7 separate regions of the Homo sapiens genome follow, and regions 1, 2, 3, 5, 6 and 7 are each linked to region 4. The links are contacts of gene promoters, found by promoter capture Hi-C in blood cells and fetal thymus (Javierre and others, 2016). All regions are on one chromosome and are shown on one strand. Each heading gives the region's core, a stretch centred on a gene start or on the middle of the fragment in contact. The rest is flanking DNA. Distances are from core to core; before and after follow the strand shown.

The links. The method cuts DNA at HindIII sites, captures the fragments that hold promoters and counts their contacts. A CHiCAGO score of 5 or more calls a contact.
Region 1: a fragment that was not itself captured here is called in contact with the fragment with the promoter of DLEU1 in region 4 in 2 of 17 cell types (naive B cells and total B cells); the score reaches 9.4 in naive B cells.
Region 2: a fragment that was not itself captured here is called in contact with the fragment with the promoter of DLEU1 in region 4 in 1 of 17 cell types (fetal thymus); the score reaches 5.9 in fetal thymus.
Region 3: a contact is called between a fragment that was not itself captured here and the fragment with the promoter of DLEU1 in region 4, in 1 of 17 cell types (fetal thymus). The highest score is 8.9, in fetal thymus.
Region 5: a contact is called between a fragment that was not itself captured here and the fragment with the promoter of DLEU1 in region 4, in 6 of 17 cell types (total B cells, megakaryocytes, erythroblasts and 3 more). The highest score is 9.6, in total B cells.
Region 6: a fragment that was not itself captured here is called in contact with the fragment with the promoter of DLEU1 in region 4 in 1 of 17 cell types (total B cells); the score reaches 5.2 in total B cells.
Region 7: a contact is called between a fragment that was not itself captured here and the fragment with the promoter of DLEU1 in region 4, in 2 of 17 cell types (total B cells and naive B cells). The highest score is 8.8, in total B cells.

Annotation. Positions count from the first base shown.
Region 1 is chr13:50,762,312-50,766,213 of GRCh38, forward strand. It overlaps a transcript of DLEU7 not described here. Among named protein-coding and RNA genes, the nearest start is that of DLEU7-AS1, 44 kb to the right of the region's middle. The HindIII fragment of the contact is 3,137 bases long and covers 263-3,399 here.
Region 2 is chr13:50,651,777-50,655,597 of GRCh38, forward strand. No RefSeq gene overlaps it. Among named protein-coding and RNA genes, the nearest start is that of DLEU1-AS1, 130 kb to the left of the region's middle. The HindIII fragment of the contact is 6,749 bases long and covers 1-3,821 here.
Region 3 is chr13:50,832,461-50,836,577 of GRCh38, forward strand. All of the region lies in intron 1 of DLEU7 (deleted in lymphocytic leukemia 7), which reads right to left. The region is part of intron 3 of DLEU7-AS1 (DLEU7 antisense RNA 1); the gene reads left to right. Among named protein-coding and RNA genes, the nearest start is that of DLEU7, 9.2 kb to the right of the region's middle. The HindIII fragment of the contact is 4,175 bases long and covers 1-3,397 here.
Region 4 is chr13:50,079,439-50,083,560 of GRCh38, forward strand. DLEU1 (deleted in lymphocytic leukemia 1) reads left to right here and starts at 2,731. Exons shown (of 7, transcript NR_109974.1): 1 at 2,731-3,119; 2 at 3,704-3,756. The region is part of intron 1 of DLEU2 (deleted in lymphocytic leukemia 2); the gene reads right to left. RefSeq lists enhancers at 1,183-1,242, 2,860-3,655 and silencers at 1,875-2,169, 2,033-2,252, 2,653-2,702. The HindIII fragment of the contact is 5,734 bases long and covers 1-4,122 here.
Region 5 is chr13:50,781,313-50,785,520 of GRCh38, forward strand. It overlaps a transcript of DLEU7 not described here. Among named protein-coding and RNA genes, the nearest start is that of DLEU7-AS1, 24 kb to the right of the region's middle. The HindIII fragment of the contact is 5,542 bases long and covers 1-4,208 here.
Region 6 is chr13:50,738,603-50,742,373 of GRCh38, forward strand. It overlaps a transcript of DLEU7 not described here. Among named protein-coding and RNA genes, the nearest start is that of DLEU7-AS1, 67 kb to the right of the region's middle. The HindIII fragment of the contact is 219 bases long and covers 1,287-1,505 here.
Region 7 is chr13:50,634,192-50,638,331 of GRCh38, forward strand. No RefSeq gene overlaps it. Among named protein-coding and RNA genes, the nearest start is that of DLEU1-AS1, 110 kb to the left of the region's middle. RefSeq lists enhancers at 1,286-1,485, 1,882-2,176 and a silencer at 1,882-2,176. The HindIII fragment of the contact is 839 bases long and covers 944-1,782 here.

The sequences.
Region 1 (3,902 bases), core at 581-3,080, 680 kb after region 4:
ACGACTATCACAAGCAGGGATTTTAGCCAGGATGCTGACTGCATGAATTAATGCCTACTCCTGGAGCATTATAATTAAAATACAGACTTATCATTCTCAGAATCTAGACAGCTCATATCCCTGCTGTGCTCACGGAACAGGGTAAAGCCCAGGTCGGAACCTATCCTGGCTGCTGCCTCACTATTATGGGTGGCATTTCTTTGCCTCTCAAGGCCTACAAATGTCTTTTTCATCTAAATCCAATAGCTTTGAACTTGATGGAAGCTTGCATTCTTTTCACAACTTTTATGGGTGTCAACACATTAAATGGAGGAGAAAGAAAGAAGCTGTATACATCTTGAAGGCGGGGATTAAAGGAGAAGATGCCACCAAGGTGGTTTAAGAATGGAACTCTTCCTACCCCAGGCCACCCCACAAAACAAAACAAAAAAACAACAAAAACACACTCTCACACTGAAGAGGTTAATCTCCTGCCCTTTATTGTGCTAGAAAAAAAAAAAAAAAAAGCAACAGCCGCCTCCCCAAGATTACAAAAAGTCCCCCTGCATCCAGGAAAGATCTGCATCCAGGAAGGGATGTTGCAGGGAGAGAAAGAATCACAGGTGAAAAGATAAAGTTCTTCCCACCAGTGTGCCTCCAACTGGTGGAGAGAAAGTGCCCTGCAGACCCACAAGTGCATATGTAATGGTAGCCCTAGGTCTGCTTGGGTCTTTAGGAAAGGAGACAACACCAGAGAGGTGGGAAGGCAGCTGCCTGGCAGTTAATTAAAGGAGAGCAGGAGAGATCACCAACTGCACGCAGAGGGACAATGATGTGTGAGATGCAGAGGGGTGTGAGATCAAGCAGCAGCTCGGTACTGCTGTGGCACTGATGTCCTGGGGACGCTGGGGAGGGCTCGAGTTATGAAGGATCCCATTCATTGTAATAAGGAGGCTGGATCTAGTCCTAAAAGAGATTGGGAACCACTAACAAATGTTAAGCAGAGAACTATGATCACATTTGCATTTTAGGAAAATCAGTCTAGTGTGAACAGCAGGGCAGGAGAGCTGGCTGAAGACAGGAAGCCCTATCAGAAGACTGCTCTGCAGTTATTCAAGTAAGACATGATGAGGGCCTGCATCAGAAATCAAGCCTGTGCAGATGGAAGAAGAAAATGAACCATGCTTTAAGAAGATGAACATAGAAAGAAAAGTGCAAGACCCTGGGTGAAGCAAGAATGTTCAGAGTCAGGAGTTAGGGAGATCATGTGAGTGCCCTAAACAGCAAAGTGGGAAACAGAACTGTCAGAAAATTCTGCAATTCACAGAAAATAGAATTCACCTCTGAATGAAATACTCAGCCAGCCACACTGCCCTTCCTGCCCTGACCCTTTTGACATGTCTTTTACCAATCCTAGCTCCCGGATCTGCCCTGCAGGCTTCCCAGTGACCTGGCCCAGCCCCATCTTCCTTTCAGAATCAGCCCCGTCACTGACTTGCTGTCTGACCAGAAGCCAACCCCATCATCACTCCAGATCCCAGTTTCCACATCTGTAAACTGCAAACAACACTAGTATTTCCCAGGATTGCTGTGGGGACTAAGTGAGACAGTGTCTGTGAAAACACCTGATAAATGTCTGTAAAGCACCATAAAATGGGAGGTGCTGTTACTGATGAAACAAAGTAAGAGACAATATTAAAGAAGAGACAGGCGGAAAGGCTGTGTTTATAGTCCCGCACTGCATTTAAGGCACTGCAGGTAGAGTGTACTAGAACGCACATGGGCTTTGGACTTGGCCAGACCTGGGTTTGAATCCTGGTTTCAGCACTGTCGCGCTCTGTGATCTTGAACAAGTCCACTCACCCCTCTGAGTCTCCATTCCTTCATCTATAATATAAGAATTCCTCCCTTACAGTGTTTTGTGAGAATTAAAGAGTTAACACATTACAAGTTGCATCATAACATATAATCATTCATAGTTGCTTCTGTGAACTCCATAAAAGGAGTTCAACAGTCTTGGTTTCCTTCTTCCACTCCTATATTATTTCTTCCTGAAAAATAATATAGTTCCACCAGAAGCTCATCTTTTCTGAACTGGTCTGAAGTTTTGTGTTCTTCCTCCCATTTCCAGGAGTCATTAACTAACAACGAACAAAACCTCTGGATGGCCGAAGGACCTAGGCTATACAGAAAGCTGTGAATTACCAATGAGAACGCAGTGAGTCAAAAGAATAATGGAATTAAATAAGTTCAGAGGCTTTAAGTGTTTCTTAAAACACTTATCTATGAACCCCTAATCTTAGTCATTTCTGGCACAGTTGTTATTCATAAGCATTTGATCATCATTCATAGAAGACTGAACAAATTAACACAATGGATTGTCTTGGAGATGAAGGGGCAGTGTACTATTCCATTTAGCTTGTTCAGGGAACTTGAGTCAAATCCCTTGAGTGTTCACTCCATCAGATAGTCCATGAAATGCTGATGAAGATATAACAATTATCCATAAAGTTAGAGTGTTCACTAATTAAGAATACTGAAGAATGAAGTATATTAAATGGGTCATGTTGCACCTTTTTTGGGTTTGTTTTGTTTTGTTTTGTTTTGTTTGAGACAGAGTCTCACTCTGTTGCCCAGGCTGGAGTGCAGTGGGGCAATCTCGGCTCACTGCAACTTCTGCATCCTGTGTTCAAGCAATTCTTCTGCCACAGCCTCCAAAGTAGCTGGGATTACAGGCACGCACCATCATGCCTGGTAAATTTTTGTATCTTTAGTAGAAACAGGGTTTCACCTTGTTGGCCAGGCTGGTCTCTAACTCCTGACCTCAGGTGATCCACCTATCTCAGCCTCCCAAAGTGCTGAGATTACAGGCATGAGCCACTGCCATGTTGCACCTTAGAATGAATTTGTGTTTGTGATGTAGAGGAGAATTTATTCAAAATTAAGAATCACTAAAGACAGGGTATTATTAGGAAATGAAAAATGGCTTTTACTCCAATGACTCAAATAGCACTGCATCCTTCACATTAATAAGATGTTTCTACATGGAGGACTTTAGAAAGCGAAGCCTGAAGGGTGCAGACAGGGGAAGGAAAAAGGAAGATAAATGGAAGAAGACAAGGGAAGAGAAAATGAGGAGGAAGGAGAAAGAAGAGGAGGAAGGAGAAAGAAGAGGAGGGAAGGAAGTTTGGAAGAGGCTGGAAGAATTTGTTTTCTCCACATTCTGGTTCCCAACTTGGTCCTCTTCTGGCAATAATCAGGCCCTGGGGGAGAGAAGAGTAAAAGACAGAAAGGGCAAAGAAGAGAATAAAATAAACAGATAGAAAGGAAGAAGACCAGGAGAAATGTGAAGGAGGAAAGAAGAAATGTAGAAGACACCGAGAACACAGATATGTTAAAATGACACTAGAATGAAAGTTAAGCTTAGTTCAGCAAAAGTTTTGAACCCCTCACATGTGCCAGGCACTGTACTGGGAGCCAGCAATATGAAGATGAAGGAGACATGGCCATTGTTGTGGAGGCACTCAACAGGGAAGAACCAAGGTTGAGAAGACAGCAAGTGAAGGCCAAGAAAACTTGCATTGCGTGGATTATTTGGAGGCTCAAAAGGGGTCAAATGCTTTTTCTCTAAGCACTTTTAGTGATGAATTCCCATTTCATCTAATGTGGTTTCTACTTGACATTAGCTTTTGGACTTTTTCAGAAGATTTCTTAAATGTACTCTTTAGTAGGAGGGTTGGGGGTGGGGTGGAGAGAAAAGGATGCGTGTAGCTTTGCCTCAGCAAGTTTCATTCCCCTTCCAAACAGATGTTGTCTGGCTAGAGCAACACAGCATAAAACATGACTACTGGATTTGGCACAAAATGTACCAATTAACCTATGTTGATTAAGTCATGTAAAAGCAACAGGGCTCACTGAGCATT
Region 2 (3,821 bases), core at 999-3,498, 570 kb after region 4:
TTATTCAAATAAGTTGAACTATTCCCATTATGAAAATAGTAGAAAAATAGATCAGGAACAGAGCCAAGGAGCTGCCCAAAGCGGTATATACATTCTCATTTGGGAATGTGGACACCTCTAATTTCCTTTGGAACCTCAGCTTAATCTTATTAAATTTCCACTAAAATTCTCTAGGGGAATTCAATGATGGGGTTAAAGGGTCAAGTTTTCTCCGGGTTTTGCTACTTCTTAGTGAACACTTTGTGGCCTCTGGAAGTGGAGGGAGCAAAACCTCAGAGAGTGCAGAGTCCCTGTGTGCAGAGAGGGCAGCAGCTGGGTGTCTCATCACCTTGCAGTTCTCAACCTTATGTGGTGGGGGGTGCCCCCGGGTGACTTAGTCCTGCGGGCCAAGACTGCAGGCTGCTGCATGAATAAAATAGACCATGAGTGAAGTCTGATTCTGCAGGTGCTAGCTGAAAGCCCACCACTTTCTCCCCTGCTCAGGAAAGTGAATTAGAATGCTAGTGAACAAAAGAGCTGTTATCATAGGGATGTCCTCTTATTGGAATCTACACTCAGAGTTTTTATATATGTTACCTAAAAACTTTGGTATACTCTAACTGTTTGTAGTGATAACTTACTCGTTCCAAACTCCCTCCACTTCCTGAGATCTGCTGGTGCAACCTGTTATTGTAAGAGTATGGGATGGGGACCATGGAGGCATTTCCCTGTCCCCTCTCATCCAGAGTGAGCTAGGCAGGGGTAGCCTTCCCTCTGGACGGTTTCAGGTCCCAGCAGGCTTCCAGGGAGGATGGGAGCTGCGGGAGGGAATATGCAGGGAAGATTGTTGCAGAATCTGGAAAACTGCTCTCAGCTTTCATATTTTTTGAGCTAGATCCTCTTGCCTCAGGCTGCCCTTGTGTAGGTAGACACCCACCACTCCCACCCTACCAGGTTTTGTTTTTGTCTGTTTTTTTTTAATTTATTCTGCTGCCAATGGTCTTCAAAGCATAAGAGTTTTCATATTTCTGAAACATCACAGAACCTTCTAATTAGCAATATTTGACCACAAGGAGTTGCAGCTTCTTCTATATATCTCCAAAATAGCTAGACTTTTGCAAGTTTTTAAAACCCAAATTTTAATTTGTGGGCATATTCTTTATTTGTACTAAGTTACAATAAGCACAAATTCTTTTGTAATATTGAGAATTATTTTTAAATTGACCAAAATTATTCACTAAAGAATTATTTTCCTTAAGAAGAAAAGAAAATATTGTAGCAACAAAAAAGGGGGTCTTGAAAGATTAAAAATCTGCTGATATTCCAGCTTTACTCCTCTCCCCTCCCCTGGCTTCTGGGGCCACCTACAGAATTCAGGCTCCTTGAATGGAAACTATTCTGGAACATGGAGTGTGGGGTGGGGGGCAGGGGGCTGCTTTGGTACAGCAAAGCTATGTGTCTATTTGAACAAAGGGAAAAGAAAAATGATTTCATTGTCCATGAAGTGTCTTCAAGAAAAATAAGTCATGGGGAGGTCTGGGACAAGGGCTTCCAAACCTGGTTTTGCAGAGTCCCCTTTGGGGACAAGAAGTGGAGATGGGGAAGAGAGGAGAAGGGGGGCAAGAAAAGGTTGACTGGGGCAACTTCAGCATCCCTCTCCCGACCAGAGAAACTCCACTTTCAGGAAAACACGAATTATTTCATTTTATTCAAACAACTGTGTGTATAGGTGTATAGGTGTATAGATATTTTCCAGGCTCATTATTTGATATCAGTGCTCTAAATATTGTCATCTAACACCAAATGCAATGTAAAGTTTTTGAGAAAAATCAATTGCATTTCTAAGAAATTGGCAAAATGACCATTCTCCTATCTCCTAATATTACTGTTACTACAGAGAATGGAGCAAAGTCTAGATTATTTAAAAATTGAAAGTAATAAAACTTTTTTTCTAGGTATGGGTAACTGCACTGGCTATTGAGAGATCAAATGATATGCACCTTCAGGAACTCTTCCAGCAAGAGCTACTCAGTGAGGAGACATTCATCATTAGCACATTCAGAAATTATAGCTCTGATATGTTTTCTGGGTGGCCGGATGCAAAGGATCATCCATAGTTATGAAAACTCAAGAACAGGGAAGTCAATTAGTATATTTATAAATCTGTATTCCTCTCCTGTCAAGGAATCTCCCTGTATATGAATGATAGCTGTGTCCTTGATTTGAGTAACTCTTTTTCCTAATCAAAAGAAACTCAAATGAACAGGCCCATATGTCTTATCAGAACAAACTATCCTGTAATAAAATGGAAAGAGGTTTTGAAAACTTGATTGTTAGTGTCCATTAATATCTTTCAAGCAGGTACATGGTATAGCATGTAATTATAAATACAGATTATAATGGCAGGCAGTATTATCCTTTAGAAAAGAGGGGATGAAACTAAGTAATTCCCTTCTCTATACTAGACACTTGTTGAAGCAAAGTCTACCACGATCTGAACTCCTCAAAGTGCATATAGTCTACTAAGGGTATCTGGCTTTTACAATAAAAAAGGTACCTTATGTTATAAAACCCGTGCTCAATAGCCTTATTTCTGGTGATTAGGAGAGGCACCAGTGGTAAAAGGCTCAGAGGAATGGCAGAAGGAACATGGATTTTGGAATTTGACTAGTCTAGATTCAAATCCCAACTCGTAACAGAGTCATCTTGGTAAGGTATGAAGCCAATATTTCATAAGTCTTATTTCCTCATTTGTTAAGTGAGAACAAAACTCCTCATCTCATAACGTCAAATGAAATAGGGAAATCATCAAGTTGAGACTTGATGCCTTGCGTACAGCAGACACTCAAATATATGAGGTTAACTTCTTTCCTCCTCTTCTTACAGGCAGATTAAGAAAGGATGTGTTAACTTATCCAGTGGTTAAGGTTAGGAATCTTGAAGATTCAGCAAGTCTCCCTTTTCGTATTTTTCTGCATGGTCCAGAATGCAAGGCTAATATCTGGAGAGTGCTTGGGCATTCCCAGATGGAATACTGATGATAGGGGCTGCATCAGGCCGTTGATCCCAGTATTACCTGTTCACTAACAACAATTTGAACTTCCCATCTTCTGGTTCTGCTGAAGTGTGTGAGGTCCCTGGGTGTTAACCTGCCTGGGTGATGACACTGCCCATCAGCAGTGATGGAGCCCGTAGCAGTGGAAGCATCTTTTAGAAGATCTTTGAGTTCCATTTCTTTTGGAGATGAAGTAGGGAAAAATCGGTTTGCTTGGAAACTCTTGCCATTTGGCAGGTATTTTGAAAATTGAAGGAAGCATTGAAATTGGCTTGGAATTATCAAGCAGCTCCAGTGTGTTTTAAATATTAGGCTTCCTCATGCAATTTCATTGAAAAAAAGATTTCTGTGACGCCAAAGAATTTGCAAATTAGCAGCATACTACAAGAGAGCTGTATGGAGTCTGAGAGTAAAGGGTGTACTGCCCTGGGTCTACCCTGCGTTCTGCCACTAATTTGCTGTGGGACACTACTGCTCTGTGTTAGTTTCTTCAGCATCAGAAAAAGAAAAAGAAAATACACCTTAGGGCATGAAAGAATATTTTAAAGGCCTAAAGCAATATATACATCATAGACATCATTAGAGACCAAGTTCATTTTGTCCCCAACAGACTTTTTATTGTAGTTTTGATTTAAATTATCTCAATATCATAATTACTTTGATGGCCCAATCTCAAAACATAGCTAAAATTAATTAGGTCAGAGTAGAAGAAGCAGAATATCTTTTTATTGCTTTTTTGTTTTTAATAAGCACTTAGAACATCCCTACTTCTTTCAGTTAAAGAAAG
Region 3 (4,117 bases), core at 60-2,559, 750 kb after region 4:
TTTTCATGTCTCTATCTCCTTCAGTTCTGCTCTAATTGTAGTTATTTACTATCTTCTGCTAGCTTTTGAAGTTGTTTGCTCTTGCTTCTCTAGTTCTTTTAATTGTGATATTAGGGTGTCGATATTAGATCTTTCCCACCTTCTCCTATGGGCATTTAGTGCTATAAATTTCCCTCTAAACACTACTTTAGCTGCGTCCCAGAGATTCTGGTACATTGTATCTTTGTTCTCATTGGTTTCAAAGAACTTATTTATTTCTGCCTTAATTTCGTTATTTACCCAGCAGTCATTCAGGAGCCAGTTGTTCAGTTTCCATGTAGTTGTGCGGTTCTGAGTGAGTTTCTTAATCCTGAGTTGTAATTTGATTGCACTGTGGTCTGAGAGACTGTTTGTATGATTTCCGTTCTTTTGCCTTTGCTAAGGAGTGTTCAACATATGCAAATCAATAAATGTAATCCATACACAAACAGAACCAATGGCAAAAACCACATGATTATCTCAACAGATGCACAAAAGTCCTTCGATAAAATTCAACAGCCCTTCATGCTAAAAACTCTTAAGAAACTAGGTATTGATAAAACATATCTCAAAATTATAAGAGCTATTTATGACAAACCCACAGCCAATATCATGCTGAATGGGCAAAAGCTGGAAGCATTCCCTTTGAAAACCAGCACAAGACAAGGACACCCTCTCTCACCACTCCTATTCAACATAGTATTGGAAGTTCTGGCCAGGGCAATCACGCAAGAGAAAGAAATAAAGCGTATTCAAACAGGAAGAGAGGAAGTCAAATTGCCTCTGTTTGCAGATGACATGATTGTATATTTAGAAAACCCCATCATCTCAGCCCAAAATCTCCTTAAGCTGATAAGCAACTTCAGCAAAGTCTCAGGATACAAAATCAATGTGCAAAAATCACAAGCATTCTTATACACCAATAACAGAGAGCCAAATCATGAGTGAACTCCCATTCACAATTGCAACAAAGAGAATAAAATACCAAGGAATACAAATTACAAGGGATGTGAAGGACCTCTTCAATGAGAACTACAAACCACTGCTCAAGGAAATAAGAGAGGACATAAAGAAATGGAAAAACATTCCATGCTCATGGATAGGAAGAATGAATATTGTGAAAATGGTCATACTGCCCAAGGTAATTTATAGATTCAATGCTATTCCCATCAAGCTACCATTGACTTTCTTCACAGAATTAGAAAAATCTACTTTAAATTTCATATGGAACCGAAAAGAGCCTGCATAGCCAAGACAATCCTAAGCCAAAAGAACAAAGCTGGAGGCATCACACTACCTGACTTCAAACTATACTACAAGGCTACAGTAATCAAAACAGCATGGTACTGGTACCAAAACAGATATATAGACAAATGGAACAGAACAGAGGCCTCAGAAATAATGCCACACATCTACAACCATCTGATCTTTGACAAACCTGACAAAAACAAACAATGGGGAAAGGATTCCCTATTTAAAAAATAGTGTTGGGAAAACTGACTAGCCATATGCCAAAAACTGAAACTGGACCCCTTCCTTACAGCTTATACAAAAATTACCTCAAGATGGATTAAAGACTTAAATGTAAGACCTAAAACCATAAAAACCCTAGAAGAAAACCTAGACAATACCATTCAGGACATAGGCATGGGCAAAGACTTCATGACTAAAACACACAAAAAAAATGGCAACAAAAGCCAAAATTGATAAATAGGATCTAATTAAACTAAAGAGCTTCTGCACAGCAAAAGAAACTATCATCAGAGTGAACAGGCAACCTACAAATGGGAGAAAATTTTTGCAATCTATCCATCCAACAAAGGGCTAATATCCACAATCTACAAGGAACTTAAACAAATTTACAAGAAAAAAACAACCCCATCAAAAAGTGGGAAAAGGATATGAACAGACACTTCTCAAAAGAAGACATTTGTGTGGCAAACAAACATATGCAAAAAAAAAAAACTCATCATCACTGGTCATTAGAGAAACGCAAATCAAAACCATAATGAAATACCATCTCATGCCAGGTAGAACGGAGATCATTAAAAAGTCAGGAAACAACATATGCGGGAGAGTATGTGGAGAAATAGGAATGCTTTTACACTGTTGGTGGGAGTGTAAATTAGTTCAACCATTGTGGAAGACAGTGTGGTGATTCCTCAAGGATCTAGAACCAGAAATACCATTAGACCCAGCAATCCCATTACTGGTTATACACCCAAAGGATTATAGGTCATTCTACTATAAACACACATGCACATGTATGTTTATTGCAGCACTATTCACAATAGCAAAGACTTGGAACCAACCCAAATGCCCATCAATGATAGACTGGATAAAGAAAATGTGGCACATATGCACCATGGAATACTATGCAGCCATAAAAAAGGATGAGTTCATGTCCTTTGCAGGGACATGGATGAAGCCATGAAGCCATCATTGTTAGCAAACTAACACAGGAACAGAAAACCAAACACTGCATGTTCTCACTCATAAGTGGGAGTTGAACAATGAGACCACATGTACACAGGGAGGGGCATATCACATACCGGGGCCTGTAGGGGGGTGGGGGGCTAGGGGAGGGATAGCATTAGGAGAAATACCTAATGTAGATGATGGGTTGATGGATGCAGCAAACCACCATGGCACGTGTATACCTATGTAACAAACCTGCACATTCTGCACAGAACTTAAAGTATAATAAAAAAAATTAACTCCTCTATTTCAGAACTCACTCATCAGACTCGGCCCAGATCCCAAATGATGCCAGGTGCAGTAATGGCTCACAGAGCCAAGCTCAGCCATGTAGTGTGGGAGACAAGACTGGCAGGAATTATAGAGCTGTAGCTGCTCCGGTGGGGTGACAGGGGCTTCTTGGAAGCAAGTGGGAGAAGCACTAAACCAGTTTTGGGGATGGAACAAAATGCCTACAAGTGAATCGTTTCATGTTTCTTTTTTGGCCATCTTCACACTATTTTTCTTAAGGTTGACTGAGTGTTATGAGTGGTACGAAGCTCAAAAATTGGCAAGGATCACATCCAAATGGAAGACTGGCCTGTTGGCCCATCCCTCCTCCCTGCAGCGTAATTGAGAGAGCTTGGCTATTTGAAAGATATTCAAGGCATCGAACCTTCTACACCCCATGTAAAACCAACCCTGAGCTAATCAGAAACCGCCCAGCTGGAGGTTTCCTTTCCTCAGCTCTGTTCTCTCCTACCCACTGTGAGGGATGTCTCTCGGAAAAACCGCCACACTGTGTACTTTTCTGCATTCTGCATTGTGCATTTATTAGGAATGCACACATCTGGAATTCTTGAACAACTGAAAATGCACCTGCAAAATCTTAAAACGGAAGACAAGTTAAGCCTGTTTTTAAAGCTTGGTACTGAAAATAAACACTCTCATCATAACTGGAGTCTTGAAGACAAGAAGAATCTAGCAGTGTGAGTCCATTTGAAAGCCTGTTTTCTGAAACCAACACCAGTGGATAATAAAGTCAAAAACCCAATATGACTTAATAGACTCTAAAATGCAGATAACATTTAAACAATCCACAAGGATTGTGCTTTTTTCTCCTACCATGTCACCTTCAAAATCACTCCTAAATCTACGTAAATTGTAAATCAGCTCATACTCACTTAACCACCAGCTCTACAACAAGTTGGCTCTTTTGAAAACAGTCACCTCTTGAGATACCTTGAGCTTTATTCTCTTACACTGGCCTCCACAAGCTTGTTTCTTCTCACATTTCCCCCTCTAGCTCTCCCTGAAGCCTTCATGTCCTCTACAGAGAGCACGAAGGAAAGAGATGGAGATATGGGGGTGGGAGGGCAGTGAGAAAGAGAACAGAAGAGAAGAAAGAGAAGGAGAGGAGGAGAAGAAGAAAGAGAGAAAAAGGAAAGAAAAAAAGAGGCCGGGCATGGTGGCTCATCCCTGTAATCCCAGCACTTTGGGAGGCTGAGGCAGGTGGATCACGAGGTCAGGAGATCGAGACCATCCTGGCTAATATGGTGAAACCCTGTCTCTACTATAAATACAAAAAGTTAGCCAGGCGTGGTGGCAGGCGCCTGTAGTCCCAGCTACTCGGGAGGCTGAG
Region 4 (4,122 bases), core at 1,481-3,980:
CTGCCTTTTATCAAGATGCAATTAAATGGAATGACAAGCTCGGTAATAAATGGAAATATACTGAGGCTGTCTCAGGCAACATCGAACAAAAATCAACTGAAAATCAACCAGATAAAAAACAGCACACCCACACTGTTGTATACAATATATTTCTTCATAATGAATTTATCAAAGGAACTAAATAATAGATACGCACCTGTGCTTACCTGTTGTCTAAATTAAGAAACATAAATGTTTTGTAAATTAAAGTTTTAGTTCACTGCAGTTACTGAATTAGCAAAATGTATATTTTCACTAGATGCGAAAAGTTTTTTAAATAAGATGTTCAATTTTTATGGAAAATGTTAAAAAGATCATTCGTGAACCTTAAGAAAATTAGTTTCTTTGCATCAAAATAAAAGAAACAACTGTCCGGTAATCTGCATCCAACAAATATATGTAGTTTAAGGTGAAAAATTCCTATCAAAGGAAAAAAACTAAATTTTTCACTCAGTTTTTAACCAATAAAGAACAGTGACAAATATATAAAAGTCTTGTTAATTTCAACCAGCAGAAACATAATTTTGCGAAAACAGCCTCTTCAGTTTTACTTTTAATATACATTTGAGAACCACACGAAAATCCTTTCTGAGAGGAAAAAAAACTATTAAAAACCAACTTTTTTTCTAAACTCTCGTCCTAACGTTTCGTAGCTATTTCCGTGGTTCTCTGGCTAAAAGTATATTTTTTCGTAAAGTCGAGAATTATAGTTTAGCGTTCAACATTCAAACCCCCCAGGCCCGCTTCCTTCCAGCCAATCAGGGGGTAACAAGTCCAGAGTTTAGGGAGCTCCGTTAGACACAATTTGAAAAACATCACATTGCACTCTTCTATTCTCCTCCGGGAAACATTCTAAGCGAGGGCGGGTCCCCCAGTCTTCATAGAATATAAGAAATAAATCAATCGTTACATCAATTCCACGGGGAAAAACTCTGTAGGCAGGCAGTCCTAAAGAAGCGTGTCACCGCGGTTCCCAGGAAGCGTTATTCCTCTTTGCGAACAACTGAACAGAATAGCTGCTGCAGAAAGCATCTCCGGAATATTTGCAACCCAGAGCCGTGCGCCCCACACGCAATACACCGGCAAAGGGTTAATCTAGTGGTGCCTCCAGCGCGGAAAAGAACTCAAGATCTAATACATCCTTAACGCGGGATTTTTACAAAGGCCATAGAAGTATTACCTAAAGTTAATGCCGTCACTGGCTCACATCACTCAAGAGCTGTGGAGTAAGAATTGATAGAAACCACCAGCTAAGGGGGAAAAAAAAAATCACCGAAGGGAAAGACAAATAACAACTCTCGTCCCTCCTCCTCAGCGTCAAGAAAAGGTGGGGATCGCAAAATTACCGTTAAGTTGTCCGGGTAAAGACTTTTGGGGGAGGAAAACATTAATAGTTTCACAGATTGCTTTTTTCCTTGCGACATGTTTCAAACACCGGAGAAGAAAAAAGTCTTCTAAGAAAGTGCGACTCGGAGGAAATAGCCACGAGAAGGAAATCGTTAGCTCGAAGCCCCATCTTTCATCTCACCCGTGAACACTCCTCCCCTTTGAGAAAGGACAACGCTGCGAGAGCAAATGACAAAAATCCCCAGAAAGAAGCTAAAGTCCAGCATCTTTCCTAAGAGCCCGCTACAACCTCAAAAGCCTGCCCCTGCCCCATCTTGGAAGCGCGAGCCGCGGCCAGTCCTACCTACCTAGAGACCTCACCGGGACCCAGCGCGCCGGGGGAGGGCAGCCAGGGCTTGGGAAACTCTTTCCTGGGGCACCTCACGCTTCAGCGTCAAAAGACAATATAGATAGATGGGTGCCGGGCGGTGGCGGGGGGGACTGTTGCCACGACCCACCGGAGGGACCCATGACTCCGGGTCCTGAATTTTCTGTCGACCTTAAGTTTCTTGTCACGAGATGACGGCCATCACCGGGTCGAGAAAACGGCGAGAAAAGGCGGCCCGGTTCGGAAATGGGGGAGGGGCGCGCGTCCAGTCCTCCTGTCAAGGAGCGGCCGCCTGCAGAGACCCCGCAGTGCGCCGTCCCCGGCTCCGGTCCCGGGCGGGGGGTCTTGCTGACAGATCCGCTGGGCGGCGGCTGCTCCGCCGCAGCCGGTCCGCGTCCCGCTCAAACTGCAGCTCCCCTCCCCCCACAGCCCCGTCTCTCCGCGCTCCCGCCACATTCCGCCCGCCGCCGCCCACTCGCAGACGCCCAAGTTGCCCCTAACCCTACTTCCTCGGATTTTTCGCGATTAAGTGAGAGTAGACCCCGCGCCCACTCCCTGCACCCACCACTGCCTGCGGGTCCCACCACTGCCACCTCCCGAGTCCCGCTCTGCTACTTCTTCAGGCTCTTACCGACTGCGCCAGCCTTGGCGAAGCTCCGCCGACTGCCCTTTGCTCCAAGTAATTTTTGGCGATTTTTAAAGTAATTTTTCCGGCGGAGTCATAGTGGCGCTATACTCTCGGACAGGTTATCCTGTCTCTCCCGCTAGATTGATGAGATCAGGCATCACTCGAAAATGGCGCCGAAAGCGCTGAGGCTCCTCATTCAAATTCGTTAGAGCCAACCCCGCCGCCCCAGGGAATGCCGGGAACGCGGGCTGCCTCCACAGCTGTCAATACCGCCTCTTAACCCCCCTTCTCTTGCTTTCCCGACATTTTTACGCATGCGCAAACTCCAACCCTCCCCCCTCCTCCCGCCAGGCACATGCGCAGAATCATCGTGGTGCACGGCTCTCCCTTTGCTTCTTCGGTTGCAGTCCTCTTGCTTCTTGCGCGTGCGTGTAGCGCTTTTGCAAAGCCGCGGAGGTGAAGTGAACTTAGAGGTTGTGGGGCCGAGGGGTCGTCTTATAGCTACCAGCCCACAGGCATTTAGTCTACGTTGGAGGTAAACAAATACGGGTCCTGCTTAGGAGAAAAGAAAAACGTCTTACAGCCAGTGTCTAAACTCCAAACAACGGAATGTATCAATGAGACCTTGTATATGGATACACGTGCATTTAAAACCGCCCTGCCGGCTTGTAGAGCTTTTGCCGTTCTCCAGCGCTTTACAGGGGTTATCGCACTTAAGCCTCGGAACAACTTTACCAGGTAGGAACTATTACTGTTCTCGTTTTGAAGACCAGGAAACCTAGGCTCAGAGACGTTAAGTAATTTGCCCAAGACAGCACAGGTGGCACAGAAGTGGATGAATCCACATCTGTCAGATTCAGCAGCCCTGGAGTTCTCTACCACGCTGTACGATTCAACCTGAGCCCACACAGGAGGCGTGGTCTCCTTCTTCAACGGTGTGTGTGTGTGTGCGCGCGCGCCTGCCTAGAGTTAATGATTAAGTTTGCTGAAGCCCTTCTTCCCGGTCCTAAGCTGCCTGTTGCGAAGGCGCTTTCATTGAATTCAGTTTCTCTTACCGTCTTAACTTGTTCATAAACTTTTTGAGATAGGAATGGGCAGTTTTTCTGTGTCACTTAGGATGATTTTTTTTTTTAATGGCGTGATAAGTGAACTGAATCCAGCAAAGACGAGTTTCTGTTGTGCAACACGTTGGTATACTGACAGCTACCACGTATTGACTGTGTACTGTGTGCTGGGCACTGTGCTAAATAAATGATTTACGAATTAATCGTGTTTATTGCTCACAACAGCCTTATGAAGTAGGTATTATCTTCACTTTACAGATGAGGACACCTGAGGTTCAGATTAAGAAATCTGCCCCAAAGTCTTAGAACTGGTAAGTAGAAGCACCATATCTAGGCAAACCTGTCTACCTTCAAAAAAAATGGGCACTCTGATAGGACAATTAACGATAATAAAGTTGTAATTTTTTTTTTTTTTTGAGACGGAGCCTCGCTCTGTCGCCAGGCTGGAGTGCAGTGGCGCGATCTCGGCTCACTGCAGCCTCCGCCTCCCGGGTTCAAGCAATTCTCCTGCCTCAGCCTCCCGAGTAGCTGGGACTACAGGCAAGTGCCACCACGCCCAGCTAATTTTTGTACTTTTAATAGAGACGGGGTTTCACCATGTTGGCCAGAAGGGTCTCGATCTCTTGACCTCGCGATCCGCCCGCCTCGGCCTCCCAAAGTGTTGGGATTACAGGCGT
Region 5 (4,208 bases), core at 281-2,780, 700 kb after region 4:
AGCACATTTGACCAGCCATCAGAGAAATGCTGTCATCACATGTCACTTCGCCTCTGGAAAACTCCACTGTATACCAGTAAGAGAATGAAAGTGAAAAAGCAAATACCATCTTAGTAACTGTGAAAATAGTTTTGAACTCCTGGACCTCCAGGAAGATCTTGAGCACCGCCAACATCCCTAGACACTTTGAAAACGGCTGCTCTAGAGCATCTGCAAATGGTCTTCCTGCCTCAGTCCCTTGTTCCCCACATCACTGCCTCGTGGATCTTCCTAAAACACACATTTGATGGTGACACTCCCCTACCTGGAGCCCTTTTTATGGCTCCTTATCATCTGTGGCATAAATTATCAATAGCAACCATGATCTAGACCACGCCTGTCTTTGCCGGGAAGACTCCTATCTGTCCTTCGCATCTCAGCTCAGAACACTAGGAAGTTGTGATAATTTTGACAAGATTTTGCCTTAGATGAAATAGAACAAATAAAAAAAAATTCTACTGAATTGTTTTATTTGCAAATATTTGTGAGATTAAAAAATAGATGGCTTTGATTTTAAGATTTTATGTTAGAAGTCAGAAAATCTTGAAATTTGATGCCAAGAGCCCACTACACTTTTAGGCTCTGTAAGCCATGAATATCTTTGAACATTTAGTATGTCCTTCTCCATATGTATTCAAACTGTGGTTTTATTTATATGCATAGTGGCTGCCCTCTAGAATAAAAGCATTTCATCTATCTCTTTCCCCCATACCCCCAAAAAACTTGGCTCAAATGTCATATATTTCAAGAAGCCTTTCTTAACACTCTCTTCCCTCCGTTAGTGGTCTGATCATGACTCCTCACATATCTAGAAAACCACCTCCCTCACAAAGGGTCTGTAAGTCCCTTGAGAATAAAAATCATTTTTCATTAGTCTTTGTAACTAGACTTTAGTACAGTGACTGGCATGGTTCCTGAAACAAAAGCCATTTCCAATAAATGGCTAACGGAAATCAGACATGTGCATATGTTGTGTCTTTGCCATGGTAATCATTTTCCCAGCCTCTGTGCCATCCTCCAATATAGCTCTTTTCTCAGCATCTAAGATTCTGTTGTTGGCAGTGTGATATTCTCAAATAGCCATAACCAAAACTTTAGTCATCTATGAATTCTCCCTCACTCTCAACCTCCTTGTCCAAGAAGCTATTGCGACCTCTTCATTTGATCTCTGCAATTTTATCTCCAACCATTTTATCCTTTCTGCCTTCCCTTGCCATGGCTTTAATTTGCTTCCTCATTATTTCACACTTGACCATTAGCACAGCCTCCTCATCTTCTACAAAATAGCCCTAGTTTCCATATAGTGAGCTTCTTGAAGTCAGAAGATTTATTCCTTACCATATTCCTAGCATATTGCACAGGACTCAAAATTGTCTTTTGAATAAAAATGTGAATTCCCACCCATCATATACACTGTCTACAGAAAAAAAAAAAAAAAACTCTTCAGGATAACTTCTAATCATGTCCTTTACCTATTCAAACATTTTCTGTGTCTTCCATTAATTACTGAATGTAGCAGATGCTGTTGGTGCCTGGGTCCACCTCCCCTCAGCCTGCGTTCACCTACAACATGAGCTCCCAAGACAGTTTCCCACTTCAAAGGCGTGTGTCTCTTTTCTATTCTTCCTAAAAGTTTTCTCCAGCATCAAGGGAGCTTGTTTTACAAAAGGTATAACCCAGAAGTTGGGAAAAGTCAACACTGCTGAGGGCAACCTCAACCAATAGGGGTTGGGAATCACTTGCTGAATTCCTCAGTCTCCTTATCTCCGGTAGATGGATTCTAAAGTGTGTTTCTCCATTTCTCAGGGGGCCCAGCAGGGCTGAGCTCCCATTGCTCACAGCAGCAAATCACTCATTTAACAAATGTTTCATTGGTTTCTCCCTTCCCTATCTCACTTCCCCTACTTCTTCCCTTTTGTGCCCCCAGAGATGGCCTTCCAAATAAACTATCTGAACCAAACAATGACATGAACAAAATCTAAACTTCCTGGCCTATCATTCAAAGTACCCCAATAGCTTGATTCTAATCTATATTTTCAGGTTACGTCATCTTACACATAATCTTACACAGAGTCCACCCTCTGGCCAACTGGAAGCCTTGTTGATCCCCAAACCATCTCACTCCAAGTTATAATTATTCTGTAGTTTCATTCACTTAGAATGACACCACTATGATTAGCTTAGACCAGTGGAGCTTCCCTCCCTAGTATGGGGAGGGACCCAGCCGATACAACCTCTCAGAGGAGGGTGACTGCAGTGAAGTCCTGTGAGCAAAAGAAAGTACAGGCTATAGCTGATGGATTGATGGCCAATAGCGTCTCTGCCACAAACAGGTAGCAGGAATGTAAAACATAAAGAAAATAGGTGCTCACAAATTCAACACAAAGTGCTGGAGACGTACTGGTGAGCTGAGGTGAGTCCTCTGAAATTTACTCCAGCAACAGACACTTTTTTACACACCCATCCCCAGCCATCAGTCCCTGATCCCTGCCATAGGCTCTCCCCATGCTGGCCCATACCACGCCCAAAGGAACACATATAGAGATATGGCCAGGCCCTCTAGGCCTGTGCTGTGACTGCTCTGCCAGAACAAAGATCACAGACTTACCACTCCCTGTTTTTAAGAGGTTGCCAACCCTTGCTCTTGCAAAGCCGTAAGCTCTAGCTTCAGTTCAGCGACCCGCCCCCTGTGTTTTGCCAGGCACATGGATTTCTGTGCAACCTGGATGCAGAGAGTTTCCAAATGTCTAGAGCTGTGAGATGTTAATCAAACGTCCACTTGAAGTGCTTTGGAAGCACTTCTGCTTTTTGGGTTATTGATGTGCTCATGTTGTATTAAGATATATTTCTGGTGCAATCATGAATTCACTTCAAGACATATTAAAGAAGGATTTTTTCCTAGCTGCTTACTTCAGAACATTGGTCCCTACAGACCAGGTATTTTTCACAGCTCCTTAGAGGCCCATAAAAAGTGATGGAAAAATGCAGCTGGGCATCTCATGTGGAAATCAAACCTACTGGAATTCCATCTGCATATCTGCCTTAACTTAGCTTGGTTATTGGTTCTTCTGAATTGTTCACTGCATACCTCTCCCCAACTTGTTTCCATCTCAAGGGAGGAGAAGCAATGGGAATTTTCGATCACATTATTCTCCAAGAAAGATGTTTGTGCCCCCAGATAATGGACATTTCCCTCCACAGAGCATGTCACACTCAGGAGAAGTGTTCAAGTGCATTTTCTATGGGCACAAATGGCAACCTGTCCTGGAGACACTCACAGAGAGATTGCATGGCCGCTGCATTTGAAAGCATGGACTCCCATCCCTGACCTGCCACTTCTCCCTAGCGGTGACCTTAGACAAGCTGCTCGGACCATCTGGGTTCTTTCTCTGATCTGTAGTGGAGTGATCAATCTCCTTCCCTGCATCTGTGTGAACAGTTAAGTGCTTTATAAAAGTAAGCGATTCATATTGGAACCTGTCCTGCAGCTCTGAGTGAACTGTTCTTCCCTAGAGCTGTCAGTTATCAACCTGAAACTAGCTGTCTTCAGATGTGCAAATTAGTTTTTTCTTACTGAAGAGAGTCTGGGGACTTCTTGTTCTTCTCTAGATTTAACATAATTGGGCTTTTACTTGGGCTGCTTATATAAGGAGAAGAGACAACCCCTCAGCTTACGTCATGCCCTATGGAAGTGCCATGACTGTTGGTCCTGTGAAGCCTGAGTTTGCCAATGGATAATCTACTAGATGGCCTGGGTTAATGTTCCTTCCTGCTGACTTAAGCTGAGGAGTAACTTACGCAGGTGTGACATCAAATCATTTGGAGAAAACCCATATTCAATGGGCACCTGGGGTTGGGACAAGTGAGACACAGAGATGGATGCACCCGGAATCAGGAATGAGGCCAGGCATTCACTAGCTTTCAATTATTTCACATCTTAGAGCAATTTTAGATTAAATCAGAAGATGTGACAGTAATCATAGTAATCAGTGTAACACTACAATTTTCTTAAATTTTGTTTTTGAGAGGAGTACCTGGGGAGTACAGAACAGTTTTCACCTAGAATTTTGCTCTATTAGAAGCCAAATATGGTAGTTGATCCTGGAGTTAATATGACCCATTGGAAATTGAAAATTGGAATCTGAAAATTTGAGTGCTGAATAGTCCTT
Region 6 (3,771 bases), core at 146-2,645, 660 kb after region 4:
ACAAACTCTTTCCACATTACCCTGCTACCTACACAGCAAATCATACAAAGATGAAAAAGATACAAATCTTGCCTACAATGAGATCATAGTATAGTGGAGACAGATCCATACTTATATATTTGTGATACAAGATGAATATCATGTATTTTCAAATAACATGCTGGAAGAAAATGGGGGAAAGTTTCTTGAAAGAGATAGTATCTGAGGTGTACTGTGTTGGCTACTTAAACTCATGCGATGTTCATAAGCTTAAGCTGAAAATTCTTAACATGATCTACAAGTTCTTAGGTGATCTGGTCCCTTTCTACCTCTCTATCCTCATTCTGGACATCTCCCAGTGAGCAGCCTCTAAAAAATAATACACACACACACACACACACACACACACACACACACACACACGCACACACACACAAACACTGGCCACACTGGCCTGATTTCTGTTCTTCTTATCATGTTCTTTCCTGCCTTGCGGCTTTACCAGGGACCTACCCTACCAGGAATGCTCTTCCTTTATTTCCTCCTCTCCTCCCACCTAGCTCAATCCTACTCATTCTTCAGCAGTTAGATACAAGACTGCTTTCTCAGTAAATTCTTCTCGGACCTCTCAGGCTGGGTTGCTTCCCTTTTTTTCTTCTTTGGGACACAGAACACAACTGTTACTATACCACTTCTGTGTAAATTTCATTGTGGTCCAGATTAGAAGATCTGCATCATCTGGAACCAAATTTGACTTGTTTCCAACAGTAACCCAGTAGGCATTCAATAAATGTTTGTTGACTGAATAGACCTTCATGGCCTAGTAGGTGAATCCATGAATGAACAAAGGGCAGGCCTTTAACACTCAGTTATGAATGGAGATGAAGGCAAATGCCATCTGGAGACAGGCAAACCTTGAGCCAAAACCCAGACGGGGAAGGAATGAGAAGAGAAACAGAGACATGGGTGTTAGGTACTTTCTGAGACTGATTTTTTAACTCTCAAGAGGCTTTTGTGCTTATCCTGGAGGGGACCAGATATGAACTACCTTTTGTAAAAAATAGGTGGATTAGAGGAACGAGAGAGAATCTGCAAAAATTCTCTCACCAGCCATATCTCTAATTAAAGTTTCTAGGGAATGTTCTTTTTCTGCTACATCTCACAACACCAAAGAGACCAAAACTGGGATGTGGCCAGATCCCTGAGAATTCTCACTTTCTTATCAGCACAGTCCAACCCTACCTAGTCCCTTTTGGCCAAATGCTTAGATACATAATGACACTAGACTCCCTGTTGGGGGCATGTAAAGCTTCCCAAAGAAATGATTCTAGATGCCTAGATTTTTTTTTTATTAAATCAGAAATGGGTTAATGAATGGTAGGGCATATAGAGAGAGAATGTGTAGAGAGTTGATCCCTGCCTTGTTGTCGAGACCACACACTAGTTCATTGATTTCTGCTCCATTTCCTTAGTCCTGACAGGAATTTAAATGTTTCAAGTTCTTTTAAGCCTGAAAATGTTTGAAAAGCTTTATTCCAAAAAGGTGCTTACACATTTTTTTCCTGCAGTATTTAGGCTTCTATTTATTGATCCCTTGGTACATTCCATCCTGATGATGGGCAAATGGGAAAAGGATGAAAACTGAAACGGTATGCACAACAACCTCAAACCATAATAGTGTAACAGTAAACCATTCTTTCAACATCTGGAATCCTGTGGGCAACTTTCCTAATAAGAAAATCAAGTCAATTTAAATCCATGTCCACACAAAGACTTACAAACCATAGGCTTATTTCTTTTAATCTTTTCTGAAGTTTCTCTGTGACTAAACCTGAATTTCAATTTCCTGGTGTGCATAAAATTAGGATATTAGACTAATGGAGTTCTGCCTACTCCCATGACAGATAGAACAGGCATTGCTAATCACTTACAGAAAACTTCACAAAACAGTATACCAGGCAGTCACTACCATTCCACTCAAGACTACACATGAGCTGAAATCTATTTGCTGTCCTGGAACAAAGAGGTCCCCAAGCCTTTTTATCGCTAATCTCTGAAGTCTATGGTTCTAAAGGAAGCCTATATGAGGCGATAGTCTCAAATATAGAAACATATAAATTTACAAGCTCTCAACTTAAGAACTTTCACAGATGCAAACAAATGAACCAAAGCAAAAATGCATCCATTCTATTAAAAACCCTTATTTTAATAGTATTACTTTGATCTTATGAGTAAATGAAACCCCCAACCTTTTTGGACTGTTCCTGCTTATAAGTGAAAAGCCTTCTGTACGCCACACTTTTCTTTTCCATTATCCTCCTTACATCCTCAATTCTTCCTGAACTCATAGAAACACTTGGAACAGCCTTGTTCATCCTGGGCCCCTCTCCTCTCTACACTGTGGGCAACTGTGTCCCTACCACCACCTGCTTCCCCATCAAAATCTGTCTCAGAGAAGATCTAATAAAGTCAGCCAAGCTGAGGTATAGCTGAAAGCTAACATCTAAACAATCTTCTCTTCTCAACGTATTTCTACTGTATTAGGAACAATGCTCCAAACAGAAGGGATGCATTTCTACTTGTAGAATTATTTTGTTTTCCAATTAGAAGAGTTAGAAAGTTATTTGGAAGAAGCAGCAGGGGAGAAGGGCCTTCTCAGTTCCCCTAAATTATTCCCTGAAGATGTATGCCTAATCCTCCTCCTCAAATGCCAGCTTTATATACATCTATTAAAATACCTGGAACATCTATTCTGAAGATATGGCTCATGAACCACCTAAATCAGAAAGCCATGGGTATTTGGGAAGTATGCAGATGATTGAGCTCTTTCCTCAAACTAAAAATCTAAATCTCTTGGGCTGGGCCCCAGGAATGTGCAATTCATCAAGCTTTCCTACTCTGACCAGGGGAGTTCTTATACAAAAATAAATTTCAGGACAACTGTTTCAAAGTAAAGGCTCAGTACCTCTATCTACATCAACATTTACACTTTTCCTGTTTTATTGCTGTTTCCCAGCCAGATTATAAACTGCCTGAAAGCCAAGACCGTATCTCATATTTTAAGAATTCCCCATAGCTGTTCCTACCTTAGCTTTTTAATAATTTTACATTTGAGGAGAGCTTTCTCAATTAATATCATAAAAGAAATAGCATTTCTCACTAGAAACCATGATAATTCAATGAAGTGGGCATTAATCAGATATTTAAATTAAATATGAATTAAGTAAGAATCCAAAAACACAGTAACTCATTGGCCTTTGTCCATTTTACAGACTTTTCTTTCAGTTTTTGCATGGGAGGGCCAAATGCACAGTACGTGCAAATTGTCAAACTTAGTATGCTCTTCAGTACATTAGTATGATTTTATTATGTATTGCAGCCAAATTTACTTTCTTCAGAATTGGAAATGATCTCACATATAGATGTTCACTTTCAACAATTCCATGAGTACCTCTACCCAGTTAAATAAATTTAAGCCATATTTATTTTGCCCTAAGATATTCAAAAAATTTTTCTAATATTACTTAAAATTGCTTGTCCCAGAATGGGACAAGTCTGTAAGATTGACAGGGAAGTTTAGGTACAAGAGATTTTTAAGGTTTTGGAACAAGAGTAATAGTATACAGATATATTTGTGTTTTCCAATTTTCTGAAAAAAAGGAATGCAATCAACGAATCAATAAAAGAGCAAAATTAAAAATTACTTGCTTTTTTATGTAAGAGCATTTGGTGGAAAGTTTATTGTCCTCTTATGTGTACTCTTCAAAATTGAAGACTATGGCATTTGCTTCT
Region 7 (4,140 bases), core at 113-2,612, 550 kb after region 4:
GGGGTGGGGAGATGGTTTCAGGATGATTCAAGTGCATTCTGGTTTATTGTACACTTTATTTCCATTATTATTACATTGTGATATATAATGAAACAATTATACAATCTGACATAATGTAGAATCAGTGGGAGCCCTGAGCTTGTTTTCCTGCAACTAGGTGGTCCCATGTCGGGGTGATGGGAGACAGTGACAGATCATCAGGCATTAGACTCTCATGAGGAGCATGCAACCGAGATCCCTCGCATACACAGTTCACAATAGGGTTTGCACTCCTATGAGAATCTAATGCTGCCTGCTGATCTGACAGGAGTCAGGGCTCAGGTGGTAATGCAAGCTATGAGGAGCAGCTGTAAATACAGATGAAGCTTCTCTCACTCACCTGTCACTCACCTCCTGCTGTGTGGCCCAGTTCCTAACAGGCCACAGACCAGTACCAGTCTGTGGCCCTGGGGTTGGGGGCTCCTGGTCTGGAGAGTATAGAGTAAACTCTAACAGGAGTGCAGAGGCTGACCATGGCACTTTGGGATGCTGTGGGGTGGAGAGCCTTGCTTTTACCTCAAAATATAAAATTGTATGCCCCAGTTAATCTGAGTAGGAATAATATCATTGGCTCCCTTTAGCATAGCTGTGATAGGCTGAGAGCACTCTCAGAATTTAATTAATTCTCAAGGAAAATCAATGGGGGAGAAACACAGATATATAAGATAGGATTCAATTTCCAAAGATTACCTTCTGATCTGGTCACATCAGGTGCTTCCAGGCCTTAAAGGCCTTATCATCTTTTCAAAGTCACATTGTCTTGACATGCCTGTATCCTATCCCGCATCGCTATAATTTTGTGGAACCTCATCTGTGACTCTACTTCCTAAGTCTGAGCATGTTTATGACTAGAGAGTACCAGGTTAACAGCAATTTTTCAAGAGCTATCTCAGAAACAACTGGAAGCTTCTGAAATCAGGGCAAAGAAATTCCAGTTCCCCATTGTCCTCCACCTAGGGCTCTCCTTCTGAGTTCAGTTTTCATATGACTCTTTCCCAGGTGTCTTTTTAATTACCGTAACGTTCATATAACAAGACTTCTGCCCTGAAAAGATCCTTAGAGTCTGTCAATTCCAATCTGTTCCCTTTACAGAAGAAGAAATGTTACAGAGAGATAGAGATAAGAGAAAATGCAGTGAAGAATCCATACCCTTTTGTATCTTTAGGGCAAAGCATTACAGCAAACATAGGGAAATGAATAGAAAATTATAGACACTTTGGAGATGTCATAGTCTAGAATGAAAATTCCATGAGCCATCTGGCCTCTTCATTGCTGTGTCTCTTGTTCCTCTCTCATGCTAGAAACTCAAGACATTTTGTATTATTGAAACTGTGACCCAAACAGTTAAAGAAACCAGTGACTAGATAAGAAAAGAAAAAACTTGCTGAAATGCGGAAACTCCCTCTGCTTGCAACATAACAAACCTAGCTGAAATCAGTTGGAACCAATATGGCCAAATGGAGTCAGTGCAGAACGAGCTTGCTGATGTCACAACCCAAATTTCCACTGCATGTTTCACACTAACTTCCCCCAAATTTGCAACATGTGACCCATGAGGAAGCGTGCAGAGATAACTGTGTGTGCCAAGGATTTTCTGGATCTCCCCTTTCCTTCCACCAATCACCAGTTAATCTCAGAATCCACCCCTAACCCTTTTCTAATAAAAATACTGCCTTAAAGTCAGCACAAGGAGACAGATTTGAGCTGAACTTCTGTCCCCTTGTTGGTCGACCTACAATAAAAAGCTTTTATTTTCTCAAAACCCCAGTGTCATAGTATTGGTTTCTAGCACTTCAGGCAGCAAGGCCTTTTGCTTGGTAACAATATGAATAAATGTCAAACTTTGTTTAAGTAAATTACCCACATAGATACCTAATTGTGGAGACAAGCAGAATGAGTATGTAAATTACCCTGGCCTGAGAGCTTTCTCTGGGTTGCCTGGCAACCAAGGTAGCCTGAAAGCCCCACCTCTCCTAGGAGAGGCTACAAGTTCTCATAGGACCAGGGACATTCCTTTCTCCAGTGGGAGTGGCTGTCTCAAACTAACTTCCCACAGGTTTAGGACCCCTAAAGCCTCCAGGTGCTGAGCCTCTGGCATTTCCTAGCAATCCCCTAAACAGCTAGAACCTAAGCTCAGGCAGCTTAGTAGCTGAGCCCAAAATATTGATTTTCTCAGACTGCTCTCACACCAAGAGGCTGTAATTCAGAGACAGACCCCACTCCTATAACGATGGAAAACAACAGGAAGTGGGATGTCTCCCTTGCCGCAAGGCCCCTCAGTGTGTTTGTCGCTGCTCTGGCCATAGTCCGCCTCTCTGGGGATGCCAACACAAGAAAGGACACATCACCTGCGGACCTATTTGTGAGTTTCAGTCTGCTCGCTGCTGGTTACCCACCCCTTGCACCAATTCACAACACCACGAGTTAGAATAGAATCATTGTCATGTTTAGAACCTGAAGCTATTCTCATTGTACCAATGTGGTAACTGAGGACCAAATAAATTGAGTGCCGGTCGTAAGTCATGTGGTAACTAATGACAATCAGGAGTATATCCCAAGCCTCCTGGGTGCTTCCTCAGATCAGTTATTTGGTCACTTAGGGTGAAAAAGGGTGATTAATGCATGTATTAGGGCTTATGGGGTGGAAGGACCTAGACATAAGCTTTTGGAACTGCAATAGCCCTCCCATAGATCATGGGAAGTCTATTACCCTCCCAAGGATTTCTGCAAACTCCTTATGGGCTGTATTTTCAGAATAATCTTCAGTATCCATTTCTGCTGATTAGATCTGTTTCTGCTGATTAGAGAACTCGGTATTCAAATTTCCAGTGGTCTCATAAATACAATTTTTAAAGTTCAGTTTCTTTGAAACGGGATTCAAATAAACCAAACTTTAAAAATTATATTTGTGAGATCACTGGAAATCTTGTGACTAGTGGATATGTTCCTAAGTCTTTATTAATTAATAAGTTCTATTTCCACCTCTTGTTATGTAGTCCTTTCAATTTATCTGTTGAATAAGCCAAGGTTTCCCACAGTTTGGATTTTGTCAATTGTATCCTTGTGGCATTAATTAATATGGTTCTCTGTTAATTCATTAGGGATTTTTTAAATGGTGTTAGTCTATGTTACTTCTTCATTTATTAGCCAGAATAATAACTTCTATAAAGAGAAACTTTCCCTGATTGACCGTTATGTTATTCAGAGCTGTTTCTAATGGGGAAGACAGGATAGGTGCTTGATTCTCTCCCTTAATTTGTCTGTTTTCAATAATGAAAAATATTTGAAGATAACTACTGAGTTTTTTTAAAAAAATTATGAAGTCATGAATTTAAATATATTTTGCATCTTTTAGCTAATTGCAGTCTTTGTGCTATTTTTTTTTTTTTTTTGAGATGGAGTCTTGCTCTGTTGCCCAGGCTGGAGTGCAGTGGCATGATCTCGGCTCACTGCAAGCTCCGCCTGCCAGGTTCACGCCATTCTCCTGCCTCAGCCTCCCGAATAGCTGGGACCACAGGCACCCGCCACCACGCCAGGCTAATTTTTTTGTATTTTTAGTAGAGACGGGGTTTCACTGTGTTAGCCAGGATGATCTCGATCTCCTGACCTCGTGATCCACCCACCTCGGCCTCCCAAAGTGCTGGGATTACAGGCGTGAGCCACTGCGCCCGGCCGTCTTTGTTCTTTTGAATGCATAAATGTCACATCTTTGGCCAGTGGGAGCCTATTTGAGTTGGCTTTTGAATCATTTGATTCATCTTGTGTATTTCAGATCTAGAATCATATTTCTCTTGAGAATCTTGGTTTCTTTTACTGAAAAATGGTATGTGGGCCACAGTCTAGAAACTGGGAGCATTCATTGTTACTAGGTTGTTCATTGTTTCTTGGGATTTTTTTTAGCATGAAATATATTGAGAGTTCATATTGAGACTTCCAGTGCAAATTTAGTTCTGTAGAGTCTTATTTTTTTTATCTTCCATCTATATCTCCTTTCTCTGTGCTAAGTATCTAAGTTTTCTATGACAGTGGGATTGATGGAATTAGAATATCATATAATTACCCACCCATTTTTTCTATCTTACCATGTCTCTGAAACAGTTT